Linked DNA regions of Homo sapiens: all the other regions are linked to region 1. Evidence: promoter capture Hi-C in 16 types of primary human blood cells and fetal thymus (Javierre and others, 2016). All regions are on one chromosome and are shown on one strand. Each heading gives the region's core, a stretch centred on a gene start or on the middle of the fragment in contact. The rest is flanking DNA. Distances are from core to core; before and after follow the strand shown.

The links. Contacts are between HindIII fragments. The CHiCAGO score rates a contact against its expected background, and 5 or more counts as called.
Region 2: a contact is called between the fragment with the promoter of RXYLT1-AS1 here and the fragment with the promoter of AVPR1A in region 1, in 2 of 17 cell types (M0 macrophages and M2 macrophages). The highest score is 6.4, in M0 macrophages.
Region 3: a fragment that was not itself captured here is called in contact with the fragment with the promoter of AVPR1A in region 1 in 2 of 17 cell types (M2 macrophages and endothelial precursors); the score reaches 5.2 in M2 macrophages.

What each region holds. Positions count from the first base shown.
Region 1 is chr12:63,148,505-63,152,953 of GRCh38, forward strand. AVPR1A (arginine vasopressin receptor 1A) reads right to left here and starts at 2,697. Exons shown (of 2, transcript NM_000706.5): 1 at 1,363-2,697. The coding sequence starts at 2,332. The HindIII fragment of the contact is 3,248 bases long and covers 1-2,904 here.
Region 2 is chr12:63,819,505-63,823,953 of GRCh38, forward strand. RXYLT1-AS1 (RXYLT1 antisense RNA 1) reads right to left here and starts at 2,652. Exons shown (of 4, transcript NR_126167.1): 1 at 2,425-2,652. MIR10527 (microRNA 10527) reads left to right here and starts at 4,159; the gene lies at 4,159-4,223. It also overlaps the pseudogene PABPC1P4. The HindIII fragment of the contact is 5,765 bases long and covers 1-3,219 here.
Region 3 is chr12:63,754,521-63,758,969 of GRCh38, forward strand. No RefSeq gene overlaps it. Among named protein-coding and RNA genes, the nearest start is that of RXYLT1, 23 kb to the right of the region's middle. The HindIII fragment of the contact is 6,982 bases long and covers 1-4,449 here.

The sequences.
Region 1 (4,449 bases), core at 1,447-3,946:
CAGGAGCCATGGGTAAGATGGTATTCACAAAGAATGAAAATTACCAACATATCTATGCACAATTGAAGTTTTTATTACTTGAGTGTAAATTCTGCTAAAGCAATAATTAGACTGAATTTCTTTATTTGATGGACAATATGAAGAGGCTTCTAAGATCAAGCAAGATAAGAAATAGCAAACCAAAAATAAAGTGTTTATATTGTATTTTTCATTATCGCTAGTATTATAGTCAGTAAGAATATTTAAGTTAAATTCATACTGAAATGTTTTATTTGCAAATATAACTTCCAAAGCATATTACATACCTCCCCTACTCCAATTCCAAAAAGCAAAAGGAGAACAGCTACTCCCAGATACCTATTTCCTGTTACCAGAAACATTCTGGTAACAACTGTACCATTGAATTTATTTGGTTTGAGTTCCGACAAGCACTGGAATTTATTTAGTTTGAGTTTTTGTCTTTACTAGAAGAAAATATTTTCAAGATGCAAAATTAAATAATTTTTTTTGCAAGTCACTGTGAAGTTAGTTTTTCTAGTTTGGGAAGGAATTAAAATCAAACACAATAGTAGGTGCAGAGAACATTTCCAGTAAACTACTGTAAGAGTTGGGTGGAGAGATGTAGAGCCGTGTGGTCAAATGAGTGGTGAAAGACTAATGAATTAGTCTAATGAATTTAGTTTATCAATAATTCTGCTTTGAAATACCAAGAAAAAACTATTAATCATTGTTAGAAAAAAATAGATTATAACGAGAAAGGAACATTATTAGCTAAATGCCAAATTGGAATTACTCACCTTCTAAAGAATTTTTCTCCAGCTTTCTTTAGAAATATATATCTGTTTCTATCCTTGCCCCTGAGGCATTTCTACACATTTTTAAAATTAATTGTAATACTTTTCACAATCCAACAAAAAGCAGTTGTGACAGTAAAAATATTTCCCTGAATCCAATAGACCTGAAATGGTGTTAATACAGTAGCTAGTGATTTAGCAAAAGTCATTCTTCGGCTTTGTAGTTGCTTGGCTGACTCTAGGACACAGTTTCTGGAATTGTGGTCTTAGGATCATTGCACACTACAAATGCAGAGTCCTGAGCCCCATTCCAGACATTCTTAATTAGAATGTCTGCATGGGGAATCCAGGAATATGCTTTTTTTTTTTTTAAACAGTGTTCCTCCAAGGTGCGACTCTTATGTACACATAGAAGTTTAAAAACTACTGCCCTAGAAGATACTATGAAGAAAATTGCTAGATTCTCATTTTTTTCTCTCTCTCTCTCTCTCTCTCTCTCTCACACACACACACACACACACACACACACTCCTATCCCTGCACTTTCCTCTATTTTCCCGGCACGTACCGGTCCAGACGGACATGGGATCCCAGACAGACCACATCTGGATGATGAAGAAAGGCGCCCAGCAGACGATGTAAGCCGTCACGATCACAAAAGTCATCTTCACCGTGCGGATCTTGGCCCGGGAAATGGACTTCACGCTGCTGACACAGGGTGCGAGCAGGAACCCCTTTTGGAAGGCCACACCCGCTTGCTCTGCACCCTTGCTCTGGCGCGACGCCGTCTTCCCGCGGACGTTGCACCAGATGTTGTAGCAGATGAAGCCGTAGCAGGTACCCAAGATGACCACGGGCGCCACAAAGATGCCGCCCGTCATCCAGGTCACGTAGGCACGAGAACCCCAGGGCTGGATGAAGGTGGCCCAGCAGTCGCGGGCCTTGGTGACATTGTTCACCTCGATCATGGAGAAGACGAAGTACTGCGGCGTGCTCAGCACGAAGCTCAGCACCCAGGCGGCCGCGATCATGAGGCGCGAGCGGCGCGCGGGCTGTTGCAGAGTCTTGAGCGGGTGGCACACCGCGATGTAGCGGTCGGCTGTCATGACTACCAGCATGTAGGCCGACGCAAACATGCCGAACACCTGCAGGTGCTTCACCACGCGGCACAGCCAGTCGGGGCCGCGGAAGCGGTAGGTGATGTCCCAGCACATTTGCGGCAGCACCTGGAAGAATGCCACGGCCAGGTCGGCCAGGCTGAGGTGTCGGATGAAGAGGTGCATGCGGGACGTCTTGCGCGGCGTCCGGTGCAGAGCCAGCAGTACGCTGCTGTTGCCCAGCACGGCCACCGCGAAAGTCACCGCCAGCACGGCGATCTCCAGTTTGGCCAGCTCCTCGTTGCGCACGTCCCTCGGTGGGCCGTTGCCCTCCCCGAGGGCTTCGGCCTCCCGGCTTGTGTTGCCAGCGCCGGTGGCCAGAGGCCACCATGGGCTGGAGTTGCCCGAGGGCCCCGCGTCGGGACCGGCGGAGAGACGCATGCTGTCCATGCAGCTCCTACTCGGCCCTCTTCGGAGCTCCAGCCCTCGCGGGCCGCTCCCTCCCCGTCTCGGAGGACTTGGGCTCCTCGTCCGAAGCGCAGGGTCTTTGGCGCGCTCGCAGCTTGCCGGGCTCTGCGATCCCTCCAGTGGGCGTCTCCCGGAGCAGCGTCCCGCCTGCCCACTGAGCAGCTCTCAGCAGGGTGAGCTGGCCCCTCTCCCTGCTCTGCCTTTTTTCAACTTCGGCGAGGTCGGGAAGGTGAGCTCCGAGCTTCCGGAAGCACTGGGTTCCCAACTCAAGTATTTATGCGGTGCTTGTTTCCTTGGGACGCGCTCCCTCCCGCCCTATTGCCGGAAGACTGCTGGTTGCCTACTCCCCGCTCCCTGGAGTTTTATTTTTTCCTCTCCCTACGTCGGTGTTTGTCCTCTGCATCACTGTGGAGGGGGTGGAGCTGGGAGACTCGCAGATTCCTCCTCACAGTAGGTGGGATCGTGGCGCTTTCCCGCTTTTCCCTTCCAAAAACTTGGACAACTGGACGAGTCATGCCTTTTCTGGGCTCGTAGCCGTTTCCACAAGCTTCCCTCACTAGCCTTCCTCGCTAGCCTCCTTAACCATGCATTTGACTTCAACAGGCACGCTAAGCGCGGTACCTGGAAACCTCCAGTCCACGCACCGGCGTCCACGCATCTAGCTCCTGCACCTGAACCTGGCTCTCGACCTCACCTCCTCCAGTCCGGGTTTCTTCCTTCTCACCGAGCTCACCCGTGCAGCAGTCTGGCAAATTTTATTCCCCAGGCAAATTTTCCCGGGGCAAACATTTCTCCCCGCTCGTGACTTAAAGAGCTATCTCTTCCTAGTAACGTCTTTGATGCATGCTATTTATTACCCTATGTTTGCGACGGGAAGAACGCACTCATCACTTTGCAGCCCCAGTGGCTGCTGTGCCTGTATTCACAGCGGGGTTTGGGGGGAGTGTCTCCTGGTTTTCTCTATGGAGACTAGGGACTTAAGGAGTTTTCTCTAGATTCCTGGGGTTTTCTGCGGGAAAAGCCTGATTCCCACAGCGGGGATGGCGGAAATTTGGCCGCAGTGGTCCGTGGGGACCGTCTGGTTACTACTGAGTCGTGGGGACATCTTTTTGGGTGGACAAAGAGCAGCTGCCGGACAGCGGCCATCCAGGCAGTGCTGTCCAGGGCAAGGGACAGAAAACCCGCCCGGCTCCTGTGCTCAGGAGTAAGAAAGAGGCAATCTCAAAGAGAGGAAAGAGGCCCTGGGAAGGAGGGGAAACAACCACCTACCTAGTAATCCGTTACTCTGAACAGCTGGAGCCCCTCTGCAGGGCGGGAGGGAGGCAGAAATGCGATCTCCCTCAGCTCTGTTTTAACGTTGGTGAAGATATGCCTCGACGGACAGCAAGGGGGAGCTGTTTTCAGGCAATTTTACAAGGAAGAAAGGAAGCCGTTTCTGCAGTTATCTGCTGTGTAGATGCAGGAGCATGACTTTGTTGGTCAGAACGTTTCAGTATTGTGGCCGTGGTATAAATTTAATTGCCTCAGAAAAATATCACCCTCTGTGAAACGTAGGCAAAAAATGCAAAAGATTTTATTCATTGCAGTTCTCAGTAATAATTCCACTTTACTATCCAGTCCGTTCATGCAGAGTTACCAAGGTTGTCACGTTGAGATGCTGGACTTGAAATCTGGAGTCCTGCTTCCTGTGGCTAGATAATCCTGGGTCTGTGCGTCTTATAAATGGAAATGAAAGGACCTGCCTTTCCTGTTGTTGAGGTCATCGGGAAGATCAAGTAAGACAATGTTCTGTATGGGGGAAATGCTCTAAAAACTGAAAGCTGTGTTGTGTTGGTTCATTTTCTCCAAGATATCCAGGAGGCAGAAGATTGAAATGGTTCAGGGATGGAAGGTAATAGGTAAAAGGTTTCCAGACCACCTGTCTGGAAAAAATCCTTCAAGCAATTAGGTAATAGTCACTGACTCAGAGAATTCACTTTCTTTTAAGTCACAAATTACACTATTAGTGCTCCTGATGAGAAAGAATGTTGACTGAACCTAGTGTCTGGGTATTGCAAAAGTGGTTTGTTGGCCACAGCCTAGTAATTTTG
Region 2 (4,449 bases), core at 1,402-3,901, 670 kb after region 1:
CATGACATATTTAAAATGCTGAATAAAAAAAATACTTTTACCCTAGAATAGTATATCCAGTCCAAACATCCTTCAAATATGGAGGATAAATAAAGACTTTCCCAGACAAACAAAAACTGAGGGATTTCATCAATACCAGACCTGTCCTACAAGAAATGCTAAAGAGAGTTCTTCAATTTGAAAGAAAAGGTACAAAACTCACTGGTAATAAATAAGTACATGGAGAAACACAGACTATGATAACACTGTAACTGTGGTATGTAAACTACTCTTGTCATAAGCAGAAAGATTAAATGATGAATCAATCAAAAATAATAACTATGACAACTTTTTAAGACATGAACAGTACAATAAGATATAAATAGAAACAACAAAAAATTAAAAAGGGGGGATGAAGTTAGAGTGTAAACTTTTTATTAGGTTTCTTTTTGCTTGTTTGTTTATACAAACAGTGATAAGTTTTTATCAGCTTAAAATAATGGGTTATAAGATAGCGTTTGCAAGCCGCATGGTAATCTCAAATGAAAAAAACATGCCATGAATACACAAAAAACAAAAAGCAAGGAACTAAATCATATCACCAGAGAAAATAATATTTACTAAGGGAAAACAGGAAGAAAAGAAAGAAAGAAGACCACAAAACAGCCAGAAAACAATTAACAAAATTGCAAAAGTAAGTTCTTACTTATCAATAATAACATTGAATGTAAATTCTTCAATGGACTAACCTCTCCAATCAAAAGACATAGAGTAGCTAAATGGATAAAAAAATAAGACCCACTGATCTGTTGCTTACAAGAAAGACACTTCACCTACAAAGACACACATAGACTGAAAATAAAGGGATAGAAAGATACTCCCTGCCAATAAAAACCAAAAAAGAGCAGGAGTAGCTATACTTAGACAAAATCGATTTCAAGACAAATCTAAAGAAGAGACAAAGAAGGTCACTATGTAAGGATAAAGGGGTCAGTTCAGCAAGAGGATATAACAATTTTAAATGTATATGTGCCCAACACTGGAGCACTCAGATATATAAAGTAAATATTATTAGAGCTAAAGAGAGAGATAGTTCCCAATATGATACTACCTGAAGACTTCAACACCCCACTTTCAGCACTGGACAGATCTTCCAGATAGAAAATTAATGAATTGGACCTAATCTGCATTATAAAACAAACGGATCTAATAGATATTTATGGAACATTTCATCCAATGGCTGCAGAACACACATTATTTTCCTCAGCACATAGATTATTCTCAAGAATAGACCATCTATTAGGTCACAAAATAAGTCTTAAAACATTAAAAAAAAAAAAAAAAAAACTGGGCCGGGTGCAGTGGCTCATGCCTGTAACCCAACACTTTGGGAGGCCGAGGCAGGCAGATCACAAGGTCAGGAGTTTGAGACCAGCCTGGCCAACATAGTGAAACCCCATCTCTACTAAAAATGCAAAAACTAGCCAGGCATGGTGGAACACACCTGTAGTCCCCGCTACTCGGGAGGCTGAGGCAAGGGAGTCACTCGAACCCAGGAGGCAGAGGTTGCAATGAGTTGAGATCACGCCACTGCACTCCAGCCCGGGTGACAGAGGGAGACTCAGTCTAAAAAAAACCCTGAAATAATATCAAGCATTTTCTCTGACCACAATGAAACAAAACTAGAAATTAATAACAAGAGGAATTTTGGAAACTATGCAAACATATGGAAATTAAACAATATACTCCTGAACGACCAGTGGATCAATGAAGTAATTAAAAAGGAAATTGAAATATTTATTGAATCAAATGATAATGGAAACACAACATACCAAAACCTATGGGATACAGCAAAAGCAGTACTAAGAGGGAATTTTATAGCTACAAGTGCCTACATCAGAAAAAAAGAAAAACTGGCCGGGCGTGGTGGCTCACGCCTGTAATCCCAGCACTTTGGGAGGGCTAGGCGGACAGATTACCTGAGGTCAGGAGTTCCATACCAGCCTGGCCAACATGGTGAAACCCCGTTTCTACTGAAAATACAAAAATTAGCCCCTTCTCCCGGCAGTTAGTGCTCAGAGTGCGGAGTGTGTGCTCCAGGCTCGGAACATACATTTATTATTAAAAAAAAATCTAAAAAAATATTTTAAAAACTTTCCCACAATTTACAAAAAATCCGCCTCTCCCCTGCCATAGACTTTTATTTTTTTCTTCTTCTTCTTTTATAAAGTAACCCCGTGAAGCAGCCGAGGCCGACTCGCCCGCCCGCAGCAGCTCCAAAAAGGAACCAAGAGACCGAGGCCTTCCCGCTGTCCGGACTGACACCTCCACCTTCGCCCGCAGCCAGCGGCAGCGGATCAACACCATTCTGGGGCGGTGAAGTAGTTTTCGATTCCGGGTGATTTTTGTCCCTCTGCGCTTGCGCTTGCGCTTGCCCCCGCTCACCTTCCCCCAGCTCCGGCCCCTAGCCCCAGCATTCGCTCTCCTCCTCTCACGGAAAGGTCGCGGCCTGTGGCCCTGCGAGCAGCAGTGCCGAGATGAACCCCAGTGCCCCCAGCTACGTCCTCGCTGTACGTGGGGGACCTCCATCCCGACGTGACCGAGGCGATGCTCTACAAGAAGTTCAGCGCGGCCGGGCTCATCCTCTCCATCCGGGTCTGCAGGGACATGATCACCCACGGCTCCTTGGGCTACGCGTATGTGAACTTCCAGTAGCCCGCGGACGCGGAGCATGCTGTGAACACTATGAATTTTGATGTTATAAAGGGCAAGCCAGTACGCATCGTGTAGTCTCAGCGTGATCCATCACTTCGCAAAAGTGGAGTGGGCTACATATTCATTAAAAATCTGGACAAATCCATTGATAATAAAGCACTGTATGATACATTTTTCTGCTTTTGGTAACATCCTTTCATGTAAGGTGGGCTGTGATGAAAATGATTCCAAGGGCTATGGATCTGTACACTTTGAGACACAGGAAGCAGCTGAAAGAGCTATGGAAAAAATGAATGGAATGCTCCTAAATGATCGCAAAGTATTTGTTGGACGATTTATGTCTCATAAAGAACGAGAAGCTGAACTTGGAGCTACGTGAAAGAGTTCACCAATGTTTACATCAAGAATTTCGGAGAAGACATGGATGATGAGCGCCTTAAGAATCTCTTTGGCAAGTTTGGGCCTGCCTTAAATGTGAAAGTAATGACTGGTGAAAGTGGAAAATCTAAAGGATTTGGATTTGTAAGCTTTGAAAGGCTTGAAGATGCACAGAAAGCTGTGGATGAAATGAAAGGAGCTCAATGGAAAACAAATTTATGTAGGTAGAGCTCAGAAAAAAGTGGAACGGCAGACAGAACTTAAGCGCAAATTTGAACAGGTGAGGCAAGATAGGATCACCAGATACCACCGTGTTAATCTTTATGTGAAAAATCTTGATGATGGCATTAATAATTAACGTCTCCGGAAAGAGTTTTCTCCATTTGGTACAATCACCAGTGCAAAGGTTATGATGGAGGGTGGTCGCTGCAAAGGGTTTGGTTTTGTATGTTTCTCCTCACCAGAAGAAGCCACTAAAGCAGTTACAGAAATGAATGGTAGAATTGTGGCCACAAAGCCATTGTATGTTGCTTTAGCTCAGCGCAAAGAAGAGTGCCAGGCTCACCTCACTAACCAGTATATGCAAAGAATGGCAAGTGTACGAGCTGTGCCCAATCTTGAAATCAACCCCTACCAGCCAGCACCTCCTTCAGGTTACTTCATGGCAGCTATCCCACAGACTCAGAACGGTGCTGCATACTATCCTCCTAGCCAAATTGCTCAACTAAGACCAAGTCCTCGCTGGACTGCTGAGGGTGCCAGACCCCATCCATTCCAAAATAGGCCCAGTGCTATCCGCCCGGCTGCTCCTAGACCACCATTTAGTACTATGAGACCAGCTTCTTCACAGGTTCCATGAGTTATGTCAACACAGCGTGTTGCTAACACATCGACACAGACAATGGGTCCACGTCCTGCAGCTGCTGCTGCTGCCACTCCACATTATAACTATGCTGCGGGAGTTCGCAGTCCTCAGAAACATCTTAATGCACAGCCACAAGTTACAATGCAACAGCCTGCTGCTCATGTACAAGGTCAGGAACCTTTGACTGCTTCCATGTTGGTATCTGCCCATGCTCAAGAGCAAAAGCAAATGTTGGGTGAACGGCTGTTTCCTCTTATTCAAGCCATGCACCTTACTCTTGCTGGTAAAATCACTGGCATGTTGTTGGAGATTGGTAATTCAGAACTTCTTCATATGCTGGAGTCTCCAGAGTCACTCCGTTCTAAGGTTAATGAAACTGTAGCTGTACTACAAGCCCACCAAGCTGAAGTGGCTGCCCAGAAAGCAGTTAACCGTGCCACCGGTGTTCCAACTGTTTAAAATTGATCAGGTACCATGAAAAGAAACTTGTGCTTCACAGAAGAAAAATATCT
Region 3 (4,449 bases), core at 1,009-3,508, 610 kb after region 1:
ATTTTTTGTTTAAAATTCATATTACTTGTTATCTCTGTCTTAGTCATTGATTCATCTACACCTTACCATAAGGACTGCTGATCTTTGGGATCATTTTGTGGCAGGGACTGTTATCTAATTAATATTTATTCTTTCTTCTGATTTTATTCAAAATGTGCCCAACTAAAACACTACATTTCGCAGCCTTCTTTGCAGCTAGGATAGGTTTTGTGACCAAGTTTGGCCAAAGACATGATGCTGCCTCACCAACACCATGAAGGAATGTCTGTTTCTGAACTTCCTTTACATGAAAGAACAAATGTTTCCATGTTTAAGCCACTACAGTCAGTTCTCTATTATTATCAGCAGCTGAATGCCAATTCCATCTAGTTCGTGTAGTGGTCAACAAAACACCAGCTACACATGACCCTAACCCTATTGTTTGGTAAAGGATGTGGGAGGAAAATTATCTTCTTTTAGAAAACACTGTAAGTGACAGACTTGGGATGGCTGCCCCAGACTAGTTAGTAAAGGTTAGTTCTCATTCAAGCAAAACAGAGTACAGAAAAAGATTCCCCAAGAATGTAAGAAACTAGTTCCTCATCCACTAAAAACTAATAACTCTGTTTAACTCTCACAGTTCTTCAAAAGGATAATGAATATCTCCCTTCATCCACATGAAAAGGAGTGAAGTATGCCTCACAATGTTAACCTGATAACTTCCATTTAAGCCACAGATGGCCTGAAGGAAGATTTATTTTCTTCCTGGGGTTGTCCAGAGCATGGGGTTTTACAGCCAGAATGTTTCTGGTTCTACTTTTCACTTCGAGTAGCTAGAGCCTAAAGTCTACCAACAATTTCCACTCGTATCCCCCAGATACTTCCGTTTCAGTATGTACAAAATGGAACCTACCTCCTCCCACTTCTATGGCCCAGTGAATGGTACTACTATCAGAAATCTAGAAATAATCCCACACTCCTCCCTCCACATCCGTTGGTTGCTATGTACCTGTGATCCTACCACCTAAATTTTTCTCATGTCCTCTTATTTTTTCAGTCTCATCATTTCTCATCTGGACTACAGCAATTCCTAAATAAGTATTGCCATGCCTCCATCTAACTTATATTTCATAGTTTAATAAAATGAATCTTTCAAAATGAAAATCTGATTAGTTTAATTCAAATGTCTTAGCTGGGAACCGAAGGCCTATTAGGATCTATTCCATGATTACCTCTCTAATGCCATCTCTTGGTACTTCATCTCATACCCTACACAGCAGCCGAATAAAACCAACAGCAATTTGCTGAATGAGTCCTGCTCCATCCCACCTTCATACCTTTCCCTAGAAAGTGCTTTTCTCTCTTTGCCTGGAAAACCACTATTCATGCTTTAACACTTAATTGATGCATTACCACCTTGAGGAATGCTACCTTGATTCTGCCCCCAAGGAGCAGTATACCATGGTATTTAAGAACAGGGGTTCATGAGCTCAAGCTGCTAGCTCTATGACCTTTGTCAAATAATTTAACCTCTCTGTGCCTCAGTTTCCTCATTTGTAAGTTGGGGATAATTCCTCATAGGATTTTTGAGAAAATTGAACAAGACACTATATATAAAAGTGGTTTGAGCTGTTTCTGGAATATGGTAAGCACTCAATAATATATATGAGCTTTTTTCTTTCCAAGATTATGTTAAATTCCTTAGTTTTATGGTCCCAGACTTTCATGACCTACCCAAATGTGATGGAAATTGTGGACTGATTCACAGAGTCTTATCAACTTGTCTTGTAGTTCGAGAAATTGAAAAGCTAAAAATGTTACACTCACTGCCTTCAGCTAACATTCTGCATGTATCCTATGCCTAACGGGTAAGATTTAAAGAGCAGAAACTAATCACAGGTCATCTTCCAGTCAGTTCTTTAGCAGTCTTTGCAAGCAAATATCATCTTGGAAATGACTATGTTTCAGCTGGTTCCCTGTTAGGAGTTTTGAATATTCATTCTTTGGTTTGCTGGGTGCCAGAAGCAAAAGCACAGTGGCAGCAGAGGTGTTGGTGGCAGTCTTGATTTTGGAACACCCTTTATGTGGCCTCACGGAAGCTCCCCTGTAGGTGAGATCTCTGTTGTTCTGAAGACATTGCTGGATCCATAAGACATAGTGAATCTTAACTAACAATCTAGGTCAACCCCAGTATAAACTTTCATTTCTTCCAGCATAAACTCTGCAATCCAGTCAGGGTGCTTCCCTACTTTCCAAATACTCCATGATTTCCTCATCTTCCCACTTTTCTTACGCCATTTCCACCTCACTCCCACCCCTCTAGAATCATTCTTGTAATCCCAAATCTTCCATTTGACACTACCTTTTAGAAAACTCCTTCATTTATATGCAGTCATAGCTCCAATATAAACACTTTTTATTTGGCAATTTTTGGCAAAAGTAATCTGCAACAATAAAACAAGGATTAGGCAAGTTTACATACATATGATCACAACCTAGCCAAGAAAACTTCATTAATCATTTCCATAGAGGCCATATTTAACTTGGAGATCTTTTTCTCAGGACTTTGTAGGCTTTTTCAAAGTCTATTTAATGCCTCTTACTTCTGGTAAAAGAAATTTCTGCAGCCCCAAGTTCAACATATAAATAATTTTAAGCTAACTTATATCACCCTTGGGGAATACAACATTTTGAATCAAAAGAGCCAGTTTAAACCAGGCCTGGTGGCTCACTTCTGTAATCCTCGCACTTTTGGAGGCCAAGGCAGGAAAATTGCTTGAGCCCAGGAGTTCAAGACCAACCTAGGCAATATGGCAAGACCCTGCCTCAATTTTTTAAATAAAATTTTAAAAAAATTAAAAAGAGCCAGTTTAGACCAAATATGTGTTCCAAGATCTACCATTTTTAGGTAATGCTGAATTTCAGCACTCTTTTATTAGAATAGGGAATAGACCACAGTCTACAATCAGGTTATATATTTTAAAGCTGGAGATATAAGTTTTGATTCTACCTTGTTCAGTGATCTTAGGTAAGTAGTTTAAACTATCTGAGTAAATTATACAATTTAAGTAAAAGTCAGCAGCATAAAAACACTGCAATTCTAAAGCTACTGAGGTTGCTTTAGAAACACAGTCCTCTAAAACTGAGGGTCCTCTACCGTGTCTTCTCTGAAGTGGCTCTTTTACTGTCCAAGCCATTTTGAACATGTGGGTTCCAATATGCTTCAGTAGAAACCTTCCTGTGAGGAAAGTAACCTTAACTCAGTTTTTTGCTAAGCTCTGTTACATGCTATATATGTATATATATATAGCATCTGATAGTTTCAAAAGTCTTAAGTACCTTTTTGTGTAACAGCTCAGGATTTTTAGATTCCCTCTTTATTGAAGATAAAGCCTTCAGCGTGAGTGAAAGGCACTGACCTGACTAGCAATTTGAGTAGATACACAAAGCTGGACACTCAAAATTGTCTCTGTCTTCTGATACTGCCACACTGTAAAGGAAAACCCTAAGTACCCCAGCTCTCTCTTCTCTTAAGCCCAGTGCGTCCCCAGGAAGCATCTTAGTCATGACACCCCTGGTGGTCCATCCTTCCAGCTTCCATACATGAATAGTATATTCCTTCACTATTGCTGCTTTAACGAATTACCACAAATGAAGTGGCTTACGGCAACACCCAAGCATTATCTCACAGTTCTACAGGTCAGAATTCCAGGGGAGGCTCAGCTGGGTCCTCTGGTCAGAGGTCATCAAAGTGCTGGCTGGTCTGGACTCTTATCTGGAGGCTCTGGGGGAGACCCTGCTTCCATGCTTATTCAGATTGCCAGTATGGTGGGTCCTGTTGCCTTGCTGGCTGTGGGCCAGGGCTCATTTTCAGCTTCTGGAAGTTGCCAATTGTCCTTGGGGTTATGCTCCGCTCCTTCAAAGCCAGCAACATTCAATTCCTTCTTACATTTCAAATCAATCGGATGTCTTCTGTTACATCTCTCTAACTTCCTGCCTTCTTCTTCTGCCTTATTCTTCTGGTTTGAGGGTTCATGTGAATACATTGGGTCTACCCAGAAAATCCAAGAATCTCCTTATTTTAAGATTAAATAATTAGTAACTCTATTTATATCTGCAAAGTTCCCTTTGCCATGTAAGATAATATATTCATGCTGCCAGGGATTAGGGGCTACAGAGTGTTCTTGGGGGCTTTAATTCTGCCTACCACAATCAGACATGTCTGAAACCAAGGCTTTCCAGCTGGGGCACCTGGTTCTTACAGCACTCAGTGAACCAGGGAGATGGTAGAAATCTTTATCTGCAAGTGTCCACCTAAAATCCATGAAGGATACAACTTATTTGTTAAATGTTAGAATTATTGCATAACAATAAGTATATTGGCCGGGCATGGTGCCTCATGCCTGTAATCCCAGCACTTTGGGAGGCTGAGGTGGGCGGATCACCTGAGGTCAGAAGTTCGAGACCAAC